Regions from separate parts of the Homo sapiens genome. Here all the other regions are linked to region 5. Evidence: promoter capture Hi-C in human tissues and cell types (Jung and others, 2019). All regions are on one chromosome and are shown on one strand. The core of a region is centred on a gene start or on the middle of the fragment in contact, and the rest is flanking DNA. Distances in the headings are between cores, read along the strand shown. Region 1 overlaps FKBP5 (FKBP prolyl isomerase 5). Region 2 overlaps SLC26A8 (solute carrier family 26 member 8). Region 3 has its middle 27 kb from the start of LINC03135. Region 4 overlaps SRPK1 (SRSF protein kinase 1). Region 5 holds the start of CLPSL2 (colipase like 2).

Evidence for each region. Contacts are between HindIII fragments. The study calls those that stand out against the background at their distance.
Region 1: a fragment that was not itself captured here is called in contact with the fragment with the promoter of CLPSL2 in region 5 in 1 of the 25 tissues and cell types used here (stomach).
Region 2: a contact is called between a fragment that was not itself captured here and the fragment with the promoter of CLPSL2 in region 5, in 2 of the 25 tissues and cell types used here (aorta and stomach).
Region 3: a fragment that was not itself captured here is called in contact with the fragment with the promoter of CLPSL2 in region 5 in 1 of the 25 tissues and cell types used here (liver).
Region 4: a contact is called between a fragment that was not itself captured here and the fragment with the promoter of CLPSL2 in region 5, in 1 of the 25 tissues and cell types used here (pancreas).

The regions. Positions count from the first base shown.
Region 1 is chr6:35,611,802-35,614,501 of GRCh38, reverse strand. All of the region lies in intron 5 of FKBP5 (FKBP prolyl isomerase 5), which reads left to right. Among named protein-coding and RNA genes, the nearest start is that of MIR5690, 52 kb to the left of the region's middle. The HindIII fragment of the contact is 7,513 bases long and covers 1-2,700 here.
Region 2 is chr6:36,003,678-36,006,396 of GRCh38, reverse strand. All of the region lies in intron 3 of SLC26A8 (solute carrier family 26 member 8), which reads left to right. All of the region lies in intron 2 of LOC105375034 (a long non-coding RNA gene), which reads right to left. Among named protein-coding and RNA genes, the nearest start is that of SLC26A8, 20 kb to the left of the region's middle. The HindIII fragment of the contact is 5,572 bases long and covers 1-2,719 here.
Region 3 is chr6:35,569,695-35,572,411 of GRCh38, reverse strand. No RefSeq gene overlaps it. Among named protein-coding and RNA genes, the nearest start is that of LINC03135, 27 kb to the right of the region's middle. RefSeq lists an enhancer at 2,706-2,717. The HindIII fragment of the contact is 3,769 bases long and covers 1-2,717 here.
Region 4 is chr6:35,915,136-35,917,835 of GRCh38, reverse strand. All of the region lies in intron 2 of SRPK1 (SRSF protein kinase 1), which reads left to right. Among named protein-coding and RNA genes, the nearest start is that of SRPK1, 4.6 kb to the left of the region's middle. The HindIII fragment of the contact is 5,314 bases long and covers 1-2,700 here.
Region 5 is chr6:35,775,221-35,777,920 of GRCh38, reverse strand. It overlaps CLPSL2 (colipase like 2), which reads right to left and starts at 1,323. Exons shown (of 3, transcript NM_207409.4): 1 at 1,219-1,323; 2 at 340-462. The coding sequence starts at 1,302. RefSeq lists a silencer at 1,213-1,342. The HindIII fragment of the contact is 15,017 bases long and covers 1-1,916 here.

The sequences.
Region 1 (2,700 bases), core at 79-2,578, 160 kb after region 5:
CTCAATTGTAACAAATTATTCATTTGTTACCCTGTATATTCCATTTTGGGTTCCTGCCATGCTCTGGTTAATTTTAATTATTCGTTTTATTTTGGATATGTGAAACATTACCATGATTTTAAACTATATAAAAAACGATATACTCAAAAGTGTCATTTCCCCCTCATCCTTATTAACCTGTTCCCACTTCCCCATTATTTCCACCCTATTCCAGTCTCATTAGTTATATCATTAGATCCTGGTTTTTCTTCCTGTATTTTATTACGTTTTATGTCATTTTATTTTTTTCTGTTTCTGTTAACAAAGGGAGCCAGTCGTGGTGGCTCACACCTGTAATCCCAGCACTTTGGGAGGCTGAGGCAGGAGGATGGCTTGACCTCAGGAATTTGAGACCATCCTGAGCAACATAGAGACCTTGTCTCTGCAAAAAGTTTAACATTTAGCCACATGTGATGGCACATGCCTCTAGTCCCAGCTACCCAGAAGACTGAGGTAGGAGGATCTCTTGAGCCCAGGAGTTCAAGGCTGCAGAGAGTTGTGATCATGCCACTGTACTCCAGCCTGGGCAACAGAACAAGGCTCTGTCTCAGTTTGAAAAAAAGAGAGAAAGAACAAAAGAAAGGGCAATGACTAATCTTTTGTCTTTCATCTTGTTAGAATGTACTTTCCTGGGAAATTTTAGATTAAATGGTTGATTTTACTTTTTCACTCAAAAGACCGTCTTGGTTTTCTGGAACAAATCTATTTCATAGAAATTTATTGTGTTATACTTTCATTTATCAAGGTTAAAATGTCCTGGTTTTTCCTCCTTTAAACAAGTTAGCTATCTGGGGGAGGAGAAAAAAGATTACCCTAAAGGTGGTCCTGTTCAAAACCAAGATCACCTTGTTCTTTTTGAAATCTTCTCAGTCTTTACTGGTTTGCCTTTTCTTTATAGCATCACCAAATACACTTAGATGTGAAACCAGATATAAAACCTGGAACTAGGCCAGGTGCGGTGGCTCACGCCTGTAATCCCAGCACTTTGGGAGGCCGAGGTGGGCAGATCACGTGAGGTCAGGAATTTGAGACCAGTCTGGCCAACATGGCAAAACCCCATCTCTACTAAAAATACAAACAATTAGCTGGGAGTGGTTGTGGGCACCTGTAATCCCAGCTACTTGGGAGGGTGAGGCAGGAGAATTGCTTGATCCTGGGAGGTGGAGGTTGCAGTGAGCAGAGATTACGCCACTACACTCCAGCCTGGGTGACAGAGGGAAACTCCGTCTCAAAAAAATAAATAAATAAAATAAATAAAACCTGGAACTAAAGCCGGCTATAGAGTGAACAAGAACAATAGACACTGATCACCCATTACAATATGTTGTTATAGATACGTGATTTACTAAATTTCTGTCATTTCTGTGTAAAGAGACAATGAAGTGGTATGGAGGAGGGGACAGATAGACTTTGTAAGTGATGGACTTGATTTTTGAATCTTGGAATTGCTACCTGATACTTTTATGACTTTAGACAAGTTACTTAACTACGTGGAGCATTCAGTTTTTTTAATCTGTCAAATGGGAATAGTTTTCACTCCCACAGGTTGTGTGACAGTGATAACGGTTTGGCTGTGTGCCTACCCAAATCTCGTCTTGAATTGTAGTTCCCACAATCCCCACGTGTCGTGGGAAGGACCCACTGGGAGGTAACTGAATCGGGGGGGCATTTTCTCCCATGCTGTTCTCATGATAGAGTGAGTTGTCACGAGATCTGATGGTTTTATAAGGGTCTGGCAGGGAAACCCTGCTGGCTCTTCCCTCTTCTGCCGCCATGTGAAGAAGGGTGTGTTTGCTTCCCCTTCTGCCATGATTGTAAGTTTCCTGAGGCTTCCCCAGCCATGTGAAACTGTAAGTCAATTAAACCTCTTTTCTTTATAAATTACCCAGTCTCAGGCAGTTCTTCATGGCAGCGTGAGAATGGACTAATACAAACAGTTACAAAGAAGAGTGTCAGACATTTAGTGGACACTTAATTTCTTCTACCCTATATATTGTGTTTCACTAATTTGTTTTGCTTCCTTTTAATTGATCTAAGGAAAAAGATCCTTGACTCCTCTTTTTCTTTTTCTGTTGCCCAAGCTGGAGTGCAGTGGGCCAGGCTGGAGTGCAATGGCGCATCTTAGCTCACTGCAACTGCTGCCTTCCGGGTTCAGGTGATTCTCCCACCTCATCCTCCCAAGTAGCTAGGACTACAGGCACGTGCCACCACACCCAGCTAATTTTTGTATTTTTAGCAAAGACGGGGTTTCGTCATGTTAGCCAGACTGGTCTTGAACTCCTGACCTCAGGTGATCCACCTACCTTGGCCTCCCTAAGTGCTGGGATTACAGGCGTGAGCCACTGTGCCTGGCTGACTCCTCTTTTTCTTATCTCCTACATGTCATCCATCAGCAAATCCTCTTGGCTCTACCTACCATGGTTATTAGAGACCTAAAATTGTCTCTAATAACAGTCTTCAAATTAATGATATATCTTAATAGTAATCTTATCTAAATCACATTTCTCAAGGTTCCGGGGAAAGAATAACATTATGGACTCAAAAAGGTTTTTACTGAATTGTAAACTTTTACTTCCTTTTCATAATTTGTCTCTGTGTGGAAGAGAAAACTTAGGTTAGTTTGATGGGATTTATTCTTTCTCAAGGAAATTTTGATTTTTA
Region 2 (2,719 bases), core at 132-2,631, 230 kb before region 5:
TGTAATCCCAACACTTTGGGAGGCTGAGGGAGGTGAATCACTTGAGGTCAGGAGGTCGAGACCAGCCTAGCCAATATGGCAAAACCCTGTCTCTACTAAAAATACAAAAATTAGCCAGGTGTAGTGGTATGTGCCTGTAATCCCAGCTACTCGGGAGGCTAAGGCAGGAGAATTGCTTAAACCTGGAAGGCAGAGGCTGCAGTAAACTGAGATCACACCACTGCATTCCAGCCTGGGTAACAGAGCGAGACTCCATTGGAAAAAAAAAAGATTTCATAGCTATATGAATGAATGAATCCAACCAGCTCTTAATACTTGATTAAGGGATTGAACATTAGTTTAATTGATGTGAATAATAAGATAATTTGTAGTGTGAATAATTCAAAAATTGTACTTACATTTGAATACCTGATGACAATAATTTTATTCAAATGAAACAAAAATACTATATGATGAAGACCTTATTAAAAAGGTGCTGGATCTTCCTTACAGTAGAATTCCAATTTATAAATGTAGAATTAAAGAAGAAAATACAAAATCACCTTCATGAAAACACTACAGTAATAATTGTACATAAAATCTACCCAGTGGATGCTAAAACCAGTGGGTGAAAATTTGCAAACTAAGAAACAGGATTTGCATATTTTCAAAGTATCTCCCTCGAGATATTTATTAACTACCCCACCACTTTACAATAGAAAACCTAGGAGAAAATAGCTTAACTAAGTGATTAATGTGAGCATCACCAGTAGTAAAATATATGGATATCATGAATCCTGTGATATGATACAATGAGAAAGATACAACATCATTTCTGTAGTATTCTTGCCAAAAGTGTATAACCTTAGTACAATCATAAGGAAATATAAGACAAACCGAAATTGAGGAGTGTTTGACAAAATAACTGATCTATTAATACTCTTAATTTGTCAAAGTCATGAAAGACAGGTAAAAATTAAGGAACTGTTATAGATTGCAGGAATAAGGGGAAATAACAACTAAATGAAATGTGAGACTCTGGATAGAATCCTAGAACAAAATGAAAGACATTAGTAAAAAAACTGATGAGATTCAAATAAAGTTTTTAATTTCTAATGTTAATTTCCTAGCTCTGATCAATATACTATGACTATATAAAATATTAACATTAGGAGAAGCTGTGGAAGGGATATATGGAAACTGCATTATTTTTGTAACTTTTCTGTAATTCTAAAATTAGTTTAAAATTTTTGAAAATTTTAAGGTGTTGGAAAGTTTGGAAATTTTAATTCCCTCTATTTCACTATGGCCTAAACTTAAATGAGACTAGATAACTTAATTCTCAGATTGTTAACCCAGTAATTCTCTTACCTTCCCAGCATTGGTTAGTTATTTAAAACTAACAAAAGATTTTTTCTTCATGCTACACGCTGCTTTTCAAGAGTAAATGGGGGCCAGGTGTGGTGACTCATGCCTGTAATCCCAGCACTTTGGGAGGCCAAGGCAGGCAGATCGCTTGAGCTCAGGAGTTCAAGACCAGACTGGGCAACATGGTGAAACCCTTGTCTCTACTAAAAAAAAAAAAAAAAAAAAAAAATTTAACTAGGTGTGGTGGTGCAAGCGCCTGTAGTCCCAGCTACTTTGGGAGGCTGAGGTGGAAGGATCACTTGAGCCTGGGAGGTTGAGGCTGCAGTGAGCCAAGATCGCACTCCAGCCTGGGTGACAGAGCAAGACAGTCACACACAAAAAAAAGAAAAAAAGTAAATAGGGGCTATTCAACATTACAACATTATAATGGAGTGCATACACAGTATATTAAAGCAAGAAAAAGAAGTACAAAGTATAAGAATTATAAATGAATAAAGCTTCATTATTCACAGATGATTTTTATGCAAAGAATTCAAAAGAATATAAAGAAAATTGATATGACTTTTTTAAAAGCAAAAAAAATTTTAAAAAGGCATAAAAAAAGAAAAACAAAGAAAATAGTAAGATTTTATGAATGTTGCTGGATACTAAATCAGCATATAACAATCAGTTATGCTTAGGTGCAATGGCTCATGCCTATAATCCTAGCACTTTGGGAGGTTGTGGCGGGTGGACTGCTTGAGCCCAGGAGCTCAAGACCAGCCTGGCAACACAGTGACACCCTGTCTCTATGAAAACTACAAAAAATCTAGATGGGCATGGTGGTGCATACCTGTAGTCCAGCTACTTGAGAGACTGAAGTGGGACGATTCCCTGAGCCTGGGAGGTTGAAGCTGTAGCGAGCTGTGATTACACCACTGCACTCTAGCCTGGGCAACAGAGCGAGACTCTGTCTCAAAAAAAAAAAAAAAAAAAGCAGAAATAAAATTGTGTTCAGTATAACTCTTAATATAAAGTTCAAAATGGGAGCAAATTAAACTGTATTGTGTAGGGATACGTACACTACTGGTAAAGAAAAGCAAAGAAATAGGCCGGGCATGGTGGCTCACGCCTGTAACCCCAGCACTTTGGGAGGCCGAGGCAGGCAGATCATGAGGTCAGGAGATCGAGACCATCCTGGCTAACATGGTGAAACCCCATCTCTACTAAAAATACAAAAAATTAGCTGGGCGTGGTGGCAGGCACCTGTAATCCCAGCTACTCAGGAGGCTGAGGCAGGAGAATGGCGTGAACCCGGGAGGCGGAGCTTGCAGTGAGCCAAGATTGTGCCACTGCACTCCAGCCTGGGCAACAGAGTGAGACTCTGTCTCAA
Region 3 (2,717 bases), core at 39-2,538, 210 kb after region 5:
GGCTGCAGTGAGCCATGATCATGCCACTGCACTCCAGCCTGGGTGACAGAGCAAGACCCTATCTCAACCATAATAAATTCCCTTTATTTGCGTGCTTTTTTTTTGTAAGAAAATAATGATCACCCTAGGGATCTTGAGGATGAGCCAGAGAAGATTCCTGGCTGTAAATGTGTGATCTCAGAAATTCAGAGGCAGCTTGCACAACCTCCAAAACGAGGACTGCCAGTGAAGGGCTTTGTCTATACTTACTTGGCCTTAGCAGCACACTGAACTCCACTTTTAGTATGGTACATGTGAAGCCTGTATTCTCTGGGGCTGGAGACTATCTCCAGTATTGGTGACAAAACGCATTGAATTTGAGCCAGTTAGTCAAAATCCTGAAACTCAGAATTCCCCAACCCAGCTGTGTATTTTTTCCATCAGCTGGCTACTTATGCATCTGAATGACAGTGACTGACGAAAGTACATAAAAGGACATTCTCTGATGGCTTGAAAAGTTTTGGTAGACCTTCAGTACTTCCCTTCAGATTTTTCTCTACTACATGTCTGACATGGAGATTTCTGTGGGAGGAGAAGGCACTATCTGTAATTGCCCAGAATCTCCACGTGTGACCTTAATAATACACGGCAAGAAAGAGACAGCGTTAAATACAACTCTTAAGATTTTTGACAGCATCTTGTTTGGGTAACTGCAGCCTATAGTTAGAAAAATTAAAGCACAGTTTATAAGGCAGGGATTCTTTGTCTTCTAAAGATGAGGGAACCTTGGAGAATCAAGAATATGGGGAGGACCCAGAATGGTGATGCAGCCTGCCCATGGCCGTCAGGTCACCTGATGCCCTTGCACCATTTTAAAATAGGTCTTTTTCTAGTATGATGAGTGATGCTCTTGGTGTATGGAAGGAGATGTTGGTACTTCCTTAGAATTCCCACATTCGGTGGAACTGAAATGGCAGCAGAGCCATGGGCCTCATAGTCTACTTTGGAATAAATCTATGGTGGGAAGCTTGCCAACGTGTTAAGCAGAGGCATCTTTTTAAAATACACTTTAGGGGCCAGGGATGGTGGCTCACACCTGTAATCCCAGCACTTTGAGAGGCTGAGGCAGGAGGATTGCTTGAGGCCAGGAGTTCAAGACCAGCCTGGGCAACATAGTGAGACCCCATCACTACCACACACACACACACAAATTAATTAGCTACACATGGTGGTGCATGCCTATAGTCCCAGCTACTTGAGAGGCTGAGGTGAGAGGATACTTGAAGCCATGAGTCGTAGGCTTCAGTGAGCTATGATCACGCCACTGCACTCCAGCCTGGGCAACAGAGTGAGACCTTGTCTCTAAAATTAGAAAAAAAAATGTGGCTGCTACATTGTTTCCACCTCTCAAATCTCCACAAGGTCATTGGTCCTTGCTAACCCAGAACTAAGCAGGGAAGGAATTCTGGGACATGTGTTTCCAACTTGGCTTAGTTGACACATTGCAAATACAACATGTGGCTAAGGCTTTCTTTTTTGTTTTTGTTTTTGAGAGGGAGTTTTGTTCTTGTTGCCCAGGCTGGAGTGCAGTGGCACAATCTCGGCTCACTGCAACCTCTGCCTCCAGTATTCAAGTGATTCTCCTGCCTCAGCCTCCTGAGTAGCTGGGATTACAGGTGTCTGCCACCACACCCAGCTAATTTTTTGTATTTTTAGTAGAGATGGGGTTTCACCATGTTGGCCAGGCTGGTCTCGAGCTCCTGACCTCAGGTGATCAACTTGCGTCAGCCTCCCAAAATGCTGGGATTACAGGCGTGAGCCACCGGGTCCGGTCTGTATCTAAGCCTTTCTTGAGGTATTAAATATTTCCAGCCTGGGTCTGCTCTGGGATAATGTGTTTTCATAAGATAACTCCTTATTGTAGGCATTGTTCTTGGCTTAAAGTTATCTCCTTAAAGCTTCTGACTAGGGAAATAAGTGGTAAGAATAAACAGTTGATGAGTATTTGGGGATGCAATGACTAATTCTAGTTACTCTAGTTCTAGTGAATGACTTGATGAGTTTGTATTGTATCTGCTCACAACCGTGTTTCCACACTAAGGACTCCTGAATTTTTTTGTCTTAAAAACTTAAACCCGCTGGGTGTCCTGGCTCACACCTGTAATCCCAGCACTTTGGGAGGCCGAGGAGGGCGGATCACGAGGTCAGGAGATCAAGACCATCCTGACTAACATGGTGAAACCCCGTCTCTACTGAAAATATGAAAAATTCGCCAGGCTTGGTGGTGGGCGCCCATAATCCCAGCTACTCAGGAGGCTGAGGCAAGAGAATGACGCGAACCCAGGAGGCGGAGCTTGCAGTGAGCTGAGATCGCGCCACTGCACTCCAGCCTGGGCGACAGAGCGAGACTCTGTCTCAAAAAATAAAAATAAAAAACTTAAACCCATGTGTATCCTATTGCCCTCTGTGGCTACCAGAGTCTTCCTAACATGACACCAGCCTTTACCTGTAGTTAACAAAATGTGATTCCCCTTCTCCCACTGAGGGATCAGGAACACTGCCTTACTCATCACCATCCTCAGCACCCAGTCCATCATCCCCAAACTAGAACATAGTAGATACTCGGTAAGCTGGCTTTGTCCCTCCTCTGAAGGCAGCCTCTTGTCTGTATCCCAGTGGCCCTTCACTCCTGTTACCTGAGATGTGGAGGCCAAAGCCCCATGATACTGTGGTTGTCC
Region 4 (2,700 bases), core at 33-2,532, 140 kb before region 5:
ATAGTGAAAACTGATCAGGACCTAAAGATATAAAAACAAAGCGTTTAAATGAAAATTTTAGAAAGTTTTGGAACTGTTACAGTAAATAGCATCCTTAGTAATTTAGTCGTGTTGTGTCACAGGCAGAAGGGATTTTCAGTCCCCTGGTACTGCAGATCTTAAACCCAGGGTCTTGAAGCTGGTGACAGAAGAACCAAAACTTGGAATTCAGGGTCCCTTTCCAGCTCTGTGTTTGTTAGAGTGGATTTCCTTTGGGTTCTTTTCACTGTGCTGGAGTATTTGACTTTGGGATTTTAAATTTTCTTATTTAGACAATTCTTCATTTTACTTTTGTGGACGCTGTGCTTTTATTTACTAACATTAACTAGTTGGTGATGATCTCCATTTTACTTTACAGATAAGAGAATTGAGGTTTGTCAGATTACTCCCCTAGAAAATTGCAAAGCTGGGATTTGAACCCAGGTCTGACATACCCAAAGCCCTGGCTACCAATCATGTGTTTCTAAGTGACAGTGCTTTTGGTGTGTCTTACAACAGGTAAGGTAGAAGCTGAGTTGAAAGAGGCTTCTGAATGAGAGACCTCTGGATGCTTGGGGGTTTGGGTGCCCTTTCATGACATACTGTCCTGTGTCTATGAAACAGCACAATCATCTATCTCCCTCTGAACATTTGTTTTCAGTGTTTATACCAATAGCTGTGAGCCTTTATTTGTTTGTCATAAGCTTTTATAATTTAACAGTGTGTGTCTGTTTTTGTTTTGTTTTGTTTTGTTTTTTGAGACAGAGTCTCACTCTGTCACCCGGGCTGGAGTGCAGTGGCGCATTCTCAGCTCACTGCAACCTCTGCCTCCCGGGCTCAAGCCATTCTCCTGCCTCAGCCTCCCAAGTAGCTGAGATTACAAGCACCTGCCACCACGCCCGGCTAATTTTTGTATTTTTCGGGGTAGAGACAGGGTTTCACCATGTTGGCCAGGCTGGTCTCAAACTCGACCTCGAGTGATCCACCTGCCTTGGCCTCTCATAGTGCTGGTATTACAGGTGTGAGCTACCGTGCCTGACCTATATGTCTGTTTTTGAAGTTGTTTCTATGGAACATAATTCCAGAATGGATTTCATACTTACTGATTTTATTACTTACCTTAGGAAGCTGGTTTGGACAGTAATTTTCACTTTATTTGCAGTTAAATAATTATGGATTTAGTATACATTTGGTAGTAAAATTAATTCAGCTCTAACACTGATTTGTGGAGTCATTTGGGAGATATATTGAAAATTTACTTGAATTTGGCCACAAATTAAAAAAAAAATTTACAAGAGAAAATACTTAAATATCTAACATTTTTATTCAGTAGGAAGTAGAGCCAGTAAATTTGAAACAATTTAAAAAATGAAATAGTATTTGATGCTTTTTACACTTAGCAGTGCACCTTGGAAATTGGTTCTATATTCCATATAGTGCAGCCTTACTATTTTTTTTAGGGTCTGCCTTTTTCACTGAGTCTTAGAAATAGTTCCATGTCAGGACAGAAAGAGAACCTCATCTAGCATTCCATTAAGTTGATATGCCATAATTTAATTAATTAATTAATTAATTTATTTATTTATTTATTTGAGGCAGAGTCTTCGCTCTTGTCATCCAGTCTGGAGTGCAGTGGTGAGATCTCAGCTCACTGCAACCTCAGCCTCCTGGGTTCAAGCGATTCTCCTGTCTCAGTTTCTCGAGTAGCTGGGATTACAGGCACATACCACTGTGTCCAGCCAACCATAATTTATTTTAATTTTTATTAATAAACGTGTGTGTGTGTGTGTGTGTGTGTGTGTGTGTGTGTGTGTGTGTGTATATATTTTTTTTTTTTTTTGTTTTTGAGACAGAGTCTCGTTCTGTCGCCCAGGCTGGAGTTCAGTGGTGCAATCTCGGCTCTCTGCAACCTCCGCCTCCTGGGTTCAAGTGATTCTCCTGCCTCAGCCTCCAGAGTAGCTGGGACTACAGGTGTGTGCCACCACGCCCCACTAATTTTTTGTATTTTTAGTAGAGACGGGATTTCACCGTGTTAGCCAGAATGGTCTCCATCTCCTGACCTCATGATCCGCCCACCTCGGCCTCCCAAAGTGCTAGGCTTACAGGCGTGAGCCACCGCACCTGGCCTGTATATACCTTTAAAGACAAAAATGGAATCACTGGGCATACTTTTCCCTAGTTAACATTATCATGAGTATTTTTCGTGTATTAAATATTCCACTATGGGCTGTTTCCAGTTTTTCACAATTAATTCACAGCTATAGTGAATAATCTTTTGGACAAATCATTGCTTACATCAGTGATTATTTCCTTAGGATAAATACTTCGAATGGTATATACATTTAAAATATTTTTAGTTCATTTTGTCAAAATTTTGTCCAGCAAGATTTTTCTTTTTTTTTTTTTTTTTTGAGACGGTGTCTTGCTCTGTCGTCCAGGCTGGAGTGCAGTGGCGTGATCTCGGCTCACTGCAAGCTCCCCCTCCCGGGTTCATGCCATTCTCCTGCCTCAGCCTCCCGAGTAGCCGGGACTACAGGCGCCCGCCACCATGCCTGGCTAATTTTGTTTTTGCATTTTTAGTAGAGACGAGGTTTAACTGTGTTAGCCGAGATGGTCTCGATCTCCTGACGTCGCGTTCTGCCCGCCTCAGCCTCCCAAAGTGCCAGGATTACAGATGTAAGC
Region 5 (2,700 bases), core at 74-2,573:
ATACTAAGCTGGGGGTAGGTGCTTCATAGATGAATATGATGCGATCCCTGCCCTTGAAGAGTTCCAACCACTGGGAGAGGCAGAGAAAAGACATGGCCAGTTAGGGAGATACATGGTCTGCTGAGGGTCTGACCCCAGGGTACAGGAGCTCCAAGGAGGGAAGCCTTCTCAGAGGAGGTGGCTGGAGTTGTTTTGCACCATGAGTAGGAGTTTGCCAAGTGGAGAAGAAGAAGGGCACTCCAGACAGAGGTGAAAAAACAGGTGGGGCCAGGTGTTTTTTTTTTAACCTCCCTGCCCGCTTCTCTACTTGCCAGAAGTTGCCCCATACTAGGGCCTCACCTGGGGCAAGCAGATCATGGTTATTCTGGCCCTGGGGGCACAGAAGGCTCCACCGGAGTCCAAGTCCATGAGGCAGCAGCCACTGTAGCACTCAGAGTGGTGGAAGCACCTGTCTGTGATTTTCTGTGGGGACAGGCAGAATGTCTGCCAGGCTGGGAGCAATCCCTGAGTCGTGTGGGCGGGTAGGGGAGGGTTCCCACCATTGCCAAAGAGCCCAGGGATCCAGGAGAAGTCATGAGGTTGTCACCCCTTGGGGGGCTGGTTCCCCCCCCAGCCCCACCCCGGCCCCTCAGCAGGACCCAGGGCAGCAGAGAGGAGGAGAGGGGGATTAGCACTTTTCCCTCGGCCTCTCCTTTCCTGGACCCCCCTCACCTCCATGAGTCCCATGGGGTGTGTACTCTTAAGTCCCATTTTGCGGGGCAGGGTTGGGGGATGAGAATGAAGGGGCTGCGGGCTCGAAAAAGAGGGAGAGAAAGAGGAGAAAAGGGGAGAGCCCTCGTGCCTGGAAGAATCACTAGACAGTGAGAGGAGGTGGAAGAAGAGGAGGAGAAACCAGAGCATGCAGGGTGGGTTTGCCTGTGAGCAGTTTGGGGAGGGAAGCGAGCCCAGGACTGAGGCCATCGGAAGGGGCACGGGCGGGGGAGGTGGAGGGAGCGAGGGTGCTGGTCATAGGCCAATTTCTCTCCCCTCTGAGGCCACCAGGGGAAAGTGAAGCGGCTTTTGAAGTCCGTCTGAGGATGCCCCAGGCTACCCGCCTGGGTGTGGTTCCGGACCCACCTCTCCCTTTCAGGCTGCCCGGCGCCTTCGGGCTCCAGTGCCCCGGCGGCGGGGCCACCCTCTCCTGCGGTCGCGGCCGGCTGGGCGCGCTCCCCGGCTCACCTTTTTATATTGCGGAAGCGCGCTCCAGAGGGGCAGCACCGCCCCCGACAGGACCCCCGCCACGAGCGCCAGGGCTGCGGCCATGGGCCTGGGCGGCAGAGCAGCGGCGGGGTTCCGAGGGGCCGCGGGATAAAACCTCTTCCCCGGCCACGTGACCCGGCGCCCCAGGCCACCCCGGCGGAGGAGGGACGTGGAGGGCGAGGACGCCTGCGGAAGGGAAGGAGGGAGGAAAGGCGCTCAGGCTCGCACGGGCGGGATTCCAGACTGTAGGGGCCCTGGGAGCCTCCATACGTGTTACTTCCAAGTAGAAGCTTGAAACTGTAAGATAAAACTCTATTTTTATTGTAAGATAAAACTCTATTTTATTGTATTTATTTATTTTACAGACGGAGTCTCGCACTGTCGCCCAGTGCAGTGGCGTGATCTCGGCTCACTGCCATCTCCGCCTCCCAGGTTCAAGTGATCCTCCTGCCTCAGCCTCCCGAGTAGCTGGGACTACAGGTGTGCGCCACCACGCCGGGATAATTTTAAAAATTTCTGTAGAGACGGGGGTCTCCCCATGTCGCCCAGGCTGGTCTCTAACTCCTGGCCTCAAGTGATGGTCCTGCTTCAGCCTCCCAAAGTGCTGGGATTACAGGTGTGAGCCACCGCACCTGGCCTCAAAACTTTATTTTTATAAACGGCACAAAACATATATGCTGAAATAAAAAGAGCTTCCTTCCTGATGTTGATTCTCTGTCTGCCCTTGCAGCCCCAGATTCTCCCCTTACCTTCGGGATAATCCAGCCCCACCCTCTGGGCTGCTCACACCCGCTGCAGGCCCCATTCTCCTCTTCTGTAAGAACCAGGAGGTGGGACAAGATGGTCTCTAAGTCTTAAATCTCTTGCAGTCTTAATCATTCTATTAATTGTCTAAGGATTTGTCTGTGAATTGTGTGAAAGTCAAGATGTGGGGGCAAAATGGAGAAGTGGGAAGAGAAGAAAACTCAGAATAGGGAGGAGGGTTAAGGGAGAGCTAGAGCTGCACAGAGCAATCCTGGAACCGGGGGAGGCAGGCCTTCCTCAGGACTTCCCTATGGATGAAGCTTCCACCTCACCCCACCTGCCTGCTTCTGCTTTTTTTTAATTTCTATTTTTTTTTAATTTTGTATTGTTAATATTTGTTATAGAGACAGGTTGTCCTTATGTTGTCCAGGCTGGTCTTGAACTCATGGGCTCAAGAGATTCTCCTGCCTCGGCCTCCCAAAGTGGTGGGATTACAGACGTGAGCCACCACTCCCAGCCTGCTTCTGCTTTTGAAGTTTCGCTTAAGAAATGAACCGAGGAATCCTGTCTTGGTGGGGAATAACAGCCAAGAATAACAGCCCCCACCGCACTCAGAGGGCCTTGTATCCATTATTTCCGTGAGCCCTCCCTGTATTAACACTAGCTGTCACAGAGTAATTAACACTGGCTGTAACAACAGAACTCCTGGAATTTCGT